Linked DNA regions of Homo sapiens: regions 1, 3 and 4 are each linked to region 2. The links are contacts of gene promoters, found by promoter capture Hi-C in blood cells and fetal thymus (Javierre and others, 2016). All regions are on one chromosome and are shown on one strand. The core of a region is centred on a gene start or on the middle of the fragment in contact, and the rest is flanking DNA. Distances in the headings are between cores, read along the strand shown.

Region 1 (2,700 bases), core at 135-2,634, 180 kb after region 2:
AAGTGGTGGATGGGGCAGGTCATGGAGGTCTTGCCGCTTCTCAAGGAGAGGCGGGATTCTATTGGCCCCTGAGAGGCTCACTTGGGCCAGGGTTGGGACATGCTGGGAGTAGCGAGCCCAGGCTAAGGCGGCCCTCCAGGCAGCCAGAAGGGTCATCCTGGAGAGATGATGGGAGCCTGACCCAGGGCAAGGGACAGGGGAGAGGTGGATAGGACATCAGGAAGGGAGGGTCAGCAGAACTGGGGATCAATTGGAGGTAGTAAGTTAGGGAGAGAGGGGAGGCCTGGTGACTCCTGGGTGTTGATTAGGCAACAGGGTGGATGGCAATGCCACTGATCAAAATGGGGACATGCAGGAAGGCAGTTCCATCGTCCTGTTGAGCTCAAGGTACCTGCCAGACCCCACGAGGAGATGTCCATGGGGCAATAGAGATGTAGGTTTAGAGCTCAGGAGGGTCCCCTGGACCAGAAAGCTGAATTTGGGAGATATCAGCACCCAGGTGATAGGTGTAATCGCAGAAGGGGATGAAATCCCCAGGAGGAGAATAAAAGCAAGAAAAAGAGAGGGCCACAGAGGAACCCCTCGGGAACACCAACATACAAAGTGGAGATGACGGAGAAGATCCAGACAGGGAAGGACAATCACGGTGTGAGAAAGGCTCCAGGAAGACAGGCCAATTCTGCAGAGAAGGCAAGCGAGATCATTTAACACCATTTGCAGAAGTAGCAACGGAGGTCATCAGTGGCCTCTGCAAACACAGTTCCAGTGAAATGAAGGGAGCAGAGGCCAGACCACCGAGGGGTGTAGAGTGGATGGAGGTGCAAGGAGGTGGTGAAGAAAGGAGAAAAATAGCCAGGCCACACATTTCCATGAGAACTGGAGGTGACAAAGGTTGGCCGCTCACTCCCCAAGCTGAGTGGTGAGGGGAAGGAAGAAGGTCTGGCCACAGGGCGAGAGCAGCCGGAAGCCTCAAGGGAAAGCGGTGCATTGGAAGAAGGGAGATGTGGGCATAGCTACCTGCTGGAGAAAGGGCGACACTGAAGGCGCAGAAGGAACTGCCAACTGGTGCTCTCTTAAGAAGGAGGAATAGAGTTCAGAAGGCTTTGAAGGGATAGAGACAAACCTTCCTGGAAACCAAAGTGCACTCAGGAAGGGTCTGGGTGTAGTTATGTGTATGGGAGTGGGAAGGATAAGGAGAGGCAAGACATGAGGCATTCCTATCTGAGGATCTCTGCTTCCTCTGTGCAGTAGGAGGTCAGAGCATCTGATGAGAGCATTGGGGGAGGGGAGTCCTGATGGGGACCTTGAAGAGGACTCTGAAACATGAACAGAGCCACTGTGGGGAAAGAACTGACCGTGGGCATCTAGATGACACACTGCTGGGGGTGGGAGACTCCGCTGGGCGCTGGAGGCAGTGCCGTTGCTGTGGTCACTGCTCTGTGGCCAAAGGACTTTTCAGCACCCAGGTGCAGGGGTGATGTGGGTGGATGGCTGGCCTGCCCCAGGGCTGCAGTGTTGCTGGCCAGGTGTGGGAGAAGAACAAGGATGAAGGTATTATATTTGCAAGTGAGTGGTATGTTGAGGGGATTCGCCTCGGAGGCTGAAAGCAAAGCCAGGAAGGAGCTGATGAAATGAGAGAAATCGGAGGTGTGATGAGAGAAATTGGAGGTGTCGGGAGCTGGGATTCTTTATGAGGCAGACAGCAGGCGGAATGCAGGCACGAGGGTGGAAAGGCTGGAAGGATGGCAGCGCAGGACTGGAGGATGACTGACCAGAGACTGAGCTTGATGATGCCAAGAGGCAATTTTTGTGGAATGAAACACAAACAGACATTATCGTTCAAAGTAAACGATGATATTCATCTCCAGTTCATCCAAGCCTATAATTTGATACCTGGCTGCAGGGTAGGGTAACCGCAGGCAGGGGATTAAACTCTGTTGACCCTGTGACCTAGTTGACATAGGGTCATACTGACAGCTAATTAATTGTCCTGCCTAATTAGAGCAAGTTTTGTAATTGTTTTAAAAATTTGTCTCAGGTCCCCGTGGCCTGGGGGCTGGTCACCCTGTTGTGGGACTGTTCTGCTGGGCCAGGAGAGCAGGGTCCCTGAAGCGGAGCATGCATTGGCTGCCACACACCTCTCAGGACTTCCCTGCAGCCCCCACGGTAATTGGCTGTCTCCTCTTCCTGGGCTCACCCCTCCTTGCACTGAGCTTTCTCTCCTCCTATCCCAGTCTCAGGTTCAGTATTCACCCCAGGGCCAGGAGTGTGGGGAAGGGGCTAGAGCTGCACATGGACCCAAGGCGGGAGGGGCGCAGGCCTGGGCAGGTGGGCAGCTTTGGACGAGGGACCAGCAAGCAGCTGCAGCCTGGGCACAAGAAGAAATGACGGGGCGAGGAATGGGGTGCGAAACCACAGGGTGAGAGGCACGTGCCTGGGACCAGGCTTGGAGTAGAAGCGAAACCAGAAATCCAGTTGTAAGCACAAGAGAAAAATCAGAACCTCAGGGAACTCAGGGCAGGTGCCTCTCTATCAAAGGAGGGGCAGTGCAGACTGGGAACCAAAAACCCAGGGCACCCATCTGGACCCGAGGGCTGCGGCGCAGAGCACGTCCTGCCTCCAGGCCAAACTGCTCTGGGAGATGACCAAGAGCCCAGCTCGGGGGGCCTGGGGAAGGAATGGGGTGGGAGCTGTCCTTCT
Region 2 (2,700 bases), core at 170-2,669:
TGTGAGTGTGAGGGTGTGTTGATTGCGTAGTGTGGTATATGTCTGTATGTGTTTGTGGTGTTGGTGATGTGCAGTGTGTGTGAAGTGGGTGGTGTGAGTAAGGGGCCACTGCAATTGGGTGTAGGAGCCAGATATCTAGGTCTCCTAGCCAGGGATAACCAGTATCTAGGCAACCATACTGGGGGGAGGGGAGGAGATATGGAGGTGAGGAATGGGCAGGAGAAAGAGGGAGGCTGAGAAATGGAGGAGTTTCCATGGCAACGACCAGGCAAGTCACGTGCAAAAGGCTAAGTTGCGGACGTAGACATACACATCCATAATATGAGGGTGGCTGGATCCCCAAAGGGGGCTCCTTTCAGAGAGGGCCTGAGATGCCCACTGATCCATCTTCAAAGCTGGAAATCTTAGCCCAGCCAGACAGCACGAAGCCACAGAGACAAAGGAAGTAGTGGCAGAGAGCACACTGGTGGGGAGAAGCCTCCAGTAGCCACGGTCCCGCGAGCGTGCAGGCTTGCAGCAGGTGACGCGGCAGACCCATGTTTCCAGCGAGGCTGCTCCCAGCTCCCACCCTCGGGTGCCTCCTCTACCAGCCACCACTTGTAAGAGCCAGAAGCCAGCGCTGGGAGCTCCAGGCTGCACACCCAACTCTCCACGGAAGCCCGGGAGACACAATAGGGGAGGCTCTGCCAGGGCCAGCCCTGCTGGGGAAAGGGGGCAATGGCGGACCCCAGGGCCCCCCGGAAAGGAAACAGGATTGGATGGATAAGACAAGAAGGAGGGAAAAAATGATGCACTCTCATGAATCCCCGAGCGCTAGAATCCTTCTTTCCCTGCGCCCCCATCCTGTGCCCACTGCCCAGCCCCACCTTCCCCAAGCACCAAACCAGCAAGTTCCATTTTGTGTCGCTCATAAGTCCACACTCACACCCAGCCACACGCCCTCGTCCGTAATTCCCCACGCTCCACCAAGTGTCCACAGCTTCCAAGTAACAAAGGGAAAACTCCTCATGGATAAAGGGTGGGCGCAGCCCTTTCCCCTTCTCCTGAAAACCCTGACCCCAAGCTCAAGGCAGCACCGAGAGCAATTCCCAGCCACCAGCGTCACCCCCAGCGCCACAGCCTGCCTCCCCTAGAGGCTCCTCTCTCTTCCGACGCCGATCTCCTTGTTTACATCCCCAGCCCGGTTTCCCGCTGCCCAGGCGGGGACCGCGGCGCAGCTGACCGCGGAGGACCGCACACACCCACTGAACACACAAAACCCGGCGCTCCCGGCGCTCCAGAGATCGGTCCCCACCGAGCCTCGCCCCTCCTCGGAAAAAGGAGCCAACTTTGCCCACCTCCCCAGCCGCCTACCTGCACAGCCGGTCCCCTCCGAGACTCCCAGGAGGACCCGCCGAGTCCCGAGGAGCCTGGGAGTGGCGGGGCTGGGGGCAGGGCGGTGGGTGAGGCTTGAGCTGCTTTCCCGCCTCCCCTCCTCCTAGGAGTCGGGCTGGCTGGGAGGCGCGTCCTGCGGGGGCGGGGGGGGGGCTCGCTCGGGGCTGGGCTCGGGGACAGCCCACTCCGTGCTGCCGTCCGCTGGCTTCTGGGTAGCGGCCGCGCGCAGACCCCCTCTCCTCCTCTCCCTGTCCGTCCTCCCGCTCTGTGCTCGCGCGCGTCCTCTGCTCCTCTCTCCTCTCGAGGGGCGGAGAGATTTTTCCAAAGGGCAGTCAAGCTCCGAGAAGCAACAGGAGACTGCCGCCGAGGAGGCGTGCAAGCGCCGGAGCGGATTTGCCATCAGCTGTTGCTTTTCGGTTTCCCTCTGGTTAGGGTGGGAAGGGAGCAAGACAGGCACAATGACAGACCTGGTGTCTCTCTGCAATAGTAAACCCCGAGGAACGGAAAAATAGGAGAAAATAACCCAGCACCAGACACAGCAGCCCACGTTAATTGGGAGCCTTGGTAATTAAGGGGAATGTGCACCAAAAGCATGAATGGCTGTGTCGTGGGCGCAGGAGCCAGCTCCAGTTGTAGTTGTCATTTTCAGCTAGAGCCAGGTGGGGAGCTGGGGGGATGGTCCTTACCTGAACCATAGATCTGCTGCCTTGAACCCCCTTTTCAAGCCCCATCCACCTCTGGCCCTGCCAGGAGCAGTACCACCCCGTCCTCAGCCCAGTCCCCAAGAGTCAAAATTCATGATGACGAACTTTGAATGTGAAGATGTAAATAAATCCTGGCTCGGCAACCCTGCCTGTGACGCGACTTGGAGCATATCTCTGCACTCAGCTCCTGAGTCTATTTCCTCACGTGGGAAAATGGTGATTAGAGACTGACCCCATGGGAGGCTTAGCTCATAGTGAGTGCTCAAGAAATTGGCTCTTACTATTAGGGGCAGAGCTTGTAGGAAGGGGCAGAGGCCAGGCACAAGTGTCAGTAGCCAGGAGCCATGCTGAGATGGAGGCTGTCCAGCCTCAGTCAAGGTGTGTGTATGGCCGAGCCGGGTGGAGGGAGGAGCTACTGAGAAAGGCTGTGATTGTCCAAGCCTAGGTAGGGCCACGGAGAGTTCCTTACAAACCCCAAGCCGGGGATGATGGGTACTGCTAGGAAGAAACCTAGCCCTGCCTCTGCTGCCCTCAGTTCTGGGCCTGTTTTCTCATTTGGGAAAATAGGGAGATGGACTAGATGATCCTGAGGTCTCTTCCAGCTCTGCCCTAGATGATCTAA
Region 3 (2,700 bases), core at 159-2,658, 240 kb after region 2:
GGGAGCTCACAGTGGTTGGGGGAAAGGGGGGCATTAAACAGACATTTAAGCTATAGTTTTGGGTTCAGAGGGAGGAAGCCCCAGGGGCTAAAACAGCTGATAAGGACTCCCAGATAAGTGCACTTTTCACTATCTGGCATTTTCTTGTTTTGTTATTTGCTTGTTCACTGTCTCTCACCCCATTTGATCCTAAGCTTTCTGAGGGCAGGGATCTTTGTTTTTTTTCATCAGTTGGATCCCAATTGCTTAGAACACTACCTGGCACAAAATAGGCACTCTATAAGTGATTACACAAATTTTGGAACGACTAGGTTAAACAATGATAACCAGGCTTTTTTTTTTTTTTTTGAGACTGAGTCTCACTCTGTTGCCCAGGCTAGAGTGAAGTGGTTTGATCTCGGCTCACTGCAGCCTCCGCCTCTGGGTTCGAATGATTCTCCACCTCAGCCTCCTGAGTAGCTGGGATTACAGGTGCCTGCCACTATGCCCAGCTAATTTTTGTATTTGTAGTAGAGACGGGTTTCACCATGTTGGCCAGGCTGGTCTTGAACTCCTGACCTCAAGTGATTCACCCGCCTCAGCCTCCCAAGGTGCTGGGATTACAGGTGTGAGCCACCGCTCCTGGCCAACAACCAGGCTTTTTTAAGACATCACTCAGAGCCTTTAATTTGCTAATGTGAGTTGTGAATCTCTGAGAGAAGGCTAACGGCATGCTTGCAACTTACTTGTCCACAGACAAGCCTTTCTGCCCCAGAAGAGAAGACCATTCTAGGGTGCTAATGAGCAAAGAGGGTGAGGGTGGAATATCGGAGAGCAGCAGGGAGTGCAGGGGAACAGATAGGCCAGTTCAGGGAGCAGAGAAGGAGAAGCCCCCCCACCTCACCTGCCCTCCCCAGCAGTCTCTGTTCTGGTCTCTCACAGGGTGACAGTGGTGGGCCCCTGATGTACCAATCTGACCAGTGGCATGTGGTGGGCATCGTTAGTTGGGGCTATGGCTGCGGGGGCCCGAGCACCCCAGGAGTATACACCAAGGTCTCAGCCTATCTCAACTGGATCTACAATGTCTGGAAGGTAAGGTACCTTTGCCCTACCCACTGTGCCTTCCCTCCAGTCCTCTACCTGGGGGGTGCCAATCCATCCTCAGGTTTGATTTAAATGGTTCTGACAACTCTTTACATCCCAAATAACTTTCCCTCCAAGCAAGGGACAGCCTGAGATTGCACTATTAAGGCTGAAATTCCTTAGGTCAGAGATTTCTGATAAATGCAAATACCTTAGGGAATAGAACACACCAAGCCTTTCTTTCTCTTTTCTGACAGAATGAGACTATCAGATCCTTTCTAGAGAGAAGATTCTGATAAGGAAGAGAGTGGAAAGGCTCATGAGACCTCCTGGCCCTCTGCAGGGTAGGGAGAGAAGCAAAGTGTTTCAGAAAAGGAAGACTCACGTTACACATGTCACCACTTTGTCCAGTTTCAGATAATCTGACTTTCTCTTCATCGGTCTCTCTTATTCTAGGCTGAGCTGTAATGCTGCTGCCCCTTTGCAGTGCTGGGAGCCGCTTCCTTCCTGCCCTGCCCACCTGGGGATCCCCCAAAGTCAGACACAGAGCAAGAGTCCCCTTGGGTACACCCCTCTGCCCACAGCCTCAGCATTTCTTGGAGCAGCAAAGGGCCTCAATTCCTATAAGAGACCCTCGCAGCCCAGAGGCGCCCAGAGGAAGTCAGCAGCCCTAGCTCGGCCACACTTGGTGCTCCCAGCATCCCAGGGAGAGACACAGCCCACTGAACAAGGTCTCAGGGGTATTGCTAAGCCAAGAAGGAACTTTCCCACACTACTGAATGGAAGCAGGCTGTCTTGTAAAAGCCCAGATCACTGTGGGCTGGAGAGGAGAAGGAAAGGGTCTGCGCCAGCCCTGTCCGTCTTCACCCATCCCCAAGCCTACTAGAGCAAGAAACCAGTTGTAATATAAAATGCACTGCCCTACTGTTGGTATGACTACCGTTACCTACTGTTGTCATTGTTATTACAGCTATGGCCACTATTATTAAAGAGCTGTGTAACATCTCTGGCATAGGCTAGCTGGAATGCTTGATAAGAACTGAGCTGGGATGATTGAACTTTCATTCTTTGGCTTGGGGAGAAAAGAAGTCCTGGGGAAGCAATTGAGTCTCAAAGTAGAGGCAGGGGAAAAAAGAGTTAGGGAGACCAGATCTGCTGAGTGGCAGCAAGAGTGAGCTGCAGATTACAGAAACCAGGGTGAGCAAGTTTGAGTCCCACACAGGGCCTTCTCCCTTTGCCTCTTTCCCTCCCTCCCTGCCTGTGATAATCAGCCAGGAGCCAGGGATAACCTATGACTTGGGAAAGAGATGAGTTAGGCAGTCAAGGGTGACATTCAATCAGGGATCCACAAGTGGCTGGAAAGAAATGCTGGTCCTGTGTCCTAACTTTTTCCGCCTGGAGAGCCCTCAGTGTGGCTTCTTACATTTAAAAAACAAAAAGGATCAGCTGCCAGGTGTGAGGCAGTCCCCAAGCTGAGTTGTGAGGATGTAAGCATGAATAAGTCCCTGCACTCAAAATGGTCAAAGAATTAAACCCCATGGACTTTTTTGGCATCTGTATGAAAGCTTGGGTTTTCTGAGGACTGTCTTGCTATAGTTAAGTCAGATCCTAGATGAAATATACTTGTTCATACTGTAC
Region 4 (2,700 bases), core at 12-2,511, 210 kb after region 2:
CACTACAGTTCATTTGTTTTGACTGCAGCCTAATATGTCACTGTGTGAATATACCAGTCAGGTTCGTAAAGACTGAGCTGAGGCTGAGTCCTCAAACTGAGATATTTTCATTAATTCTTTCATTCAACAAATATTTTTTCAATACTCATTATGTACTGTGCATTGTAGGAGACATCAGGGATATCACAGTTAACAAGATAGTCACAGTCCCTGTCATTCTAGCTTACGGTTTTGCTTTAGTTTATTTTTTCTTTCTCTCTTTTGGTTTCAAACAGGGATAGAATTTTTTTCCACAACTACTACTCAGTGAATAGCAATTGAAAACATATTAAGAGCCAGGCATTGTGGCTCACACCTGTAATCCCAGAACTTTGGGAGGCTGCGGTGGGCAGATCATTTGAGTCCAGGAGTTCGAGACCAGCCTGGGCAATACAGTGATACCTCATCTCTACGAAAAAAAAAAAAAAATAGCTGGGCGTGATGGTGCATGCCTGTAGTCCCAGCTACTCAGGAGACTGAGGTGGGAGGAGCCCTTGAGCGCAGGAGGTGGAGGCTGCAGTGAGCTGAAATCACAACATTGCACTTCAGCCTGGGCGACAGAATGAGACTCTGTCTCTCTCTCTTTCTTTCTCTCTCACTCTGTCACACACACACACACAAACACACACACACACACACACACACACAAAATTAGCCACTGTTCAGTTCAGTGATGAGGAATCCAAGGCCCCAGAAAGTGCAGAATATAAGCCTCCTTTGTGCCTCAGCTTCTAGCACTATTCCGGGTCCATCAAAGTTGTATAGTCAATATTTGTTAAATTAACAATAAACAAAAGAAACTTGCCCTACCTACCTCAATGAATGCAGGCATGCATGCACAGGTAGACTCAGTGGAAAAGAATGAATTGACAGGAAAGGGCCCACTTCCCTGCTCCACCAACCACTCTTATAGCCTCCCACAGCTCAGCAAGCACCCTCTCACCCACGTAACTAAAACCCAAGCACACCCAATCCATCGGCGAGGCCTATTGTTTGTATCTTCCAAACACATTTGGCGTCTTTTTACCACCAACCTCCTCTCTCCTTATGCCCTTGCCTTGCTCCAGCCATGCCCATCTCTATTCAGTTCCTCCAACCCCCCAAGCTTGTTCCTTCCCACTTGGCTCCTTCTTGTCACCTCCTCTAGGGAGACCAGCAAGATCCTCCGTAACCATCCTGAGCCCCTCCCTAGAGCTCCCATTCTCAGTCTGCATCCAGGCGCTGTCTCCTCTCACCCTGGATTACTCCCTGCATAGCACCTACCCCTCTCTGATCTTTTCTGGTTTATCTGTTTATGGCCTGTCCTCCCCCTTCCCCTAGCCCTCCTCTCCACCAAGAAACAAGCTTCTTGGGGACAGACCCTCGGCTGTCTTCTTTGGGCACTATTTTCCCCATCTTGCTGGGATGATTTCTTGATCTGTCTTTGAATCCTCCTGGAGTAGTGCCTGGTACAATGTAGATGCTTTACAAGCATTTGTTTAGTTTAATAATTAATTCTTTAATGCTGCCCATCCTGGTTGGCAGACAATTGATATCGACTTGACTAGACAAGAGTTAGATGAAAGGACTTTGTAAACTGTTACATGCCAGTTGGGTGTGAATTACTGTTGACGTTATCCTAACTTGACTCTAGCTGCAACAATGCAGAGTCGTCCGATTGGGTCTCATCTTCAGCCTGGAAAGAGTCTGCTCTATCCAGCCCTGGTGATGGTGGAGGAGAGACGGCCGGGAATGAACTACAATGCAGAGCTCAAAGTTCAGTCCAGTTCACAGTCATTTATTAAGTTTTTACTAGGTACTAGCCTGGTGCTAAACAGCAAGGGTACAAAGGCAATGAGAAAGAGTGGCTAATTAAAAATAAAATGTTAAATTTAAAAAAGCAACCAAAAAGAAAGAAAAAAGGAAAGGAAACGCTGACCACCCTATGAGAGAAGCCCTGTGATAAACACCTGTACCAAATGCTACAGAAGTGCAGAGGATGGTGTAACCGCCCAAGGGGTTCACCTTGCCCGCTGCCTAGACAAAACCAATTCATCAAGACAGGGGAATTGAAATAGAGAAAGAGTAATTCACGCAGAGCCAGCTGTGTGGGAGACTGGAGTTTTATTAGTACTCAAATCAATCTCCCCAAGCATTCAGGGAGCAGAGTTTTTAAGGATAACTTGGTGGGTGGGGGGAAGCCAGTGAGCCAGGAATGCTGATTGGTCAGGGATGAAATCATATAGAGTTGGAGCTGTCTTCTTGCGCTCAGTCAGTTCCTGGGCGGGGGCCGCCAGATCAGATGAGGCAGTTTATTGATCTGGGTGGTGCCAGCTGATCCGTCAGGTGCAGGGTCTGCAAAATATCTCAAGCCCTGATCTTAGAAGCAGTTTGGGGAGGGTCAGAATCTTGTAACCTCCAGCTGCATGACTCCTAAACCATAATTTCTAATCTTGGGGCTAACGTTAGTCTAGTCCCCAGACAAGAAGGCAGTCTGCTCTGGGAAAGAGCTGTTACCAACTTTGTTTAAACTATAAACTAAGTTTCTCCCAAAGTTAGTTCTGCCTACCCCTAGGAATGAACAAGGACAGTTTGGAGGTTAGAAGCAAGATGGAGTCGCTAAGTTAGATCTCTTTCACTGTCTCAGTCATCATTTTGCCAAGGCAGTTTCAATGGGAGGGC

What was found. The method cuts DNA at HindIII sites, captures the fragments that hold promoters and counts their contacts. A CHiCAGO score of 5 or more calls a contact.
Region 1: a fragment that was not itself captured here is called in contact with the fragment with the promoter of FXYD6 in region 2 in 4 of 17 cell types (total CD4 T cells, activated CD4 T cells, naive CD8 T cells and 1 more); the score reaches 6.8 in total CD4 T cells.
Region 3: a contact is called between a fragment that was not itself captured here and the fragment with the promoter of FXYD6 in region 2, in 1 of 17 cell types (naive CD8 T cells). The highest score is 5.2, in naive CD8 T cells.
Region 4: a fragment that was not itself captured here is called in contact with the fragment with the promoter of FXYD6 in region 2 in 9 of 17 cell types (activated CD4 T cells, total CD4 T cells, total CD8 T cells and 6 more); the score reaches 8.1 in activated CD4 T cells.

What each region holds. Positions count from the first base shown.
Region 1 is chr11:118,056,110-118,058,809 of GRCh38, forward strand. All of the region lies in intron 1 of SMIM35 (small integral membrane protein 35), which reads right to left. Among named protein-coding and RNA genes, the nearest start is that of TMPRSS4, 20 kb to the right of the region's middle. The HindIII fragment of the contact is 7,499 bases long and covers 1-2,700 here.
Region 2 is chr11:117,875,239-117,877,938 of GRCh38, forward strand. It overlaps FXYD6 (FXYD domain containing ion transport regulator 6), which reads right to left and starts at 1,420. Exons shown (of 8, transcript NM_022003.4): 1 at 1,354-1,420. FXYD6-FXYD2 (FXYD6-FXYD2 readthrough) reads right to left here and starts at 1,420. Exons shown (of 10, transcript NM_001243598.4): 1 at 1,354-1,420. The HindIII fragment of the contact is 14,206 bases long and covers 1-2,700 here.
Region 3 is chr11:118,116,384-118,119,083 of GRCh38, forward strand. It overlaps TMPRSS4 (transmembrane serine protease 4), which reads left to right. Exons shown (of 13, transcript NM_019894.4): 12 at 922-1,071; 13 at 1,519-2,700. The coding sequence ends at 1,530. Among named protein-coding and RNA genes, the nearest start is that of SMIM35, 31 kb to the left of the region's middle. The HindIII fragment of the contact is 2,433 bases long and covers 193-2,625 here.
Region 4 is chr11:118,090,162-118,092,861 of GRCh38, forward strand. All of the region lies in intron 1 of TMPRSS4 (transmembrane serine protease 4), which reads left to right. It overlaps LOC105369517 (a long non-coding RNA gene), which reads right to left. Exons shown (of 4, transcript XR_007062904.1): 4 at 2,126-2,373. Among named protein-coding and RNA genes, the nearest start is that of SMIM35, 4.5 kb to the left of the region's middle. The HindIII fragment of the contact is 239 bases long and covers 1,143-1,381 here.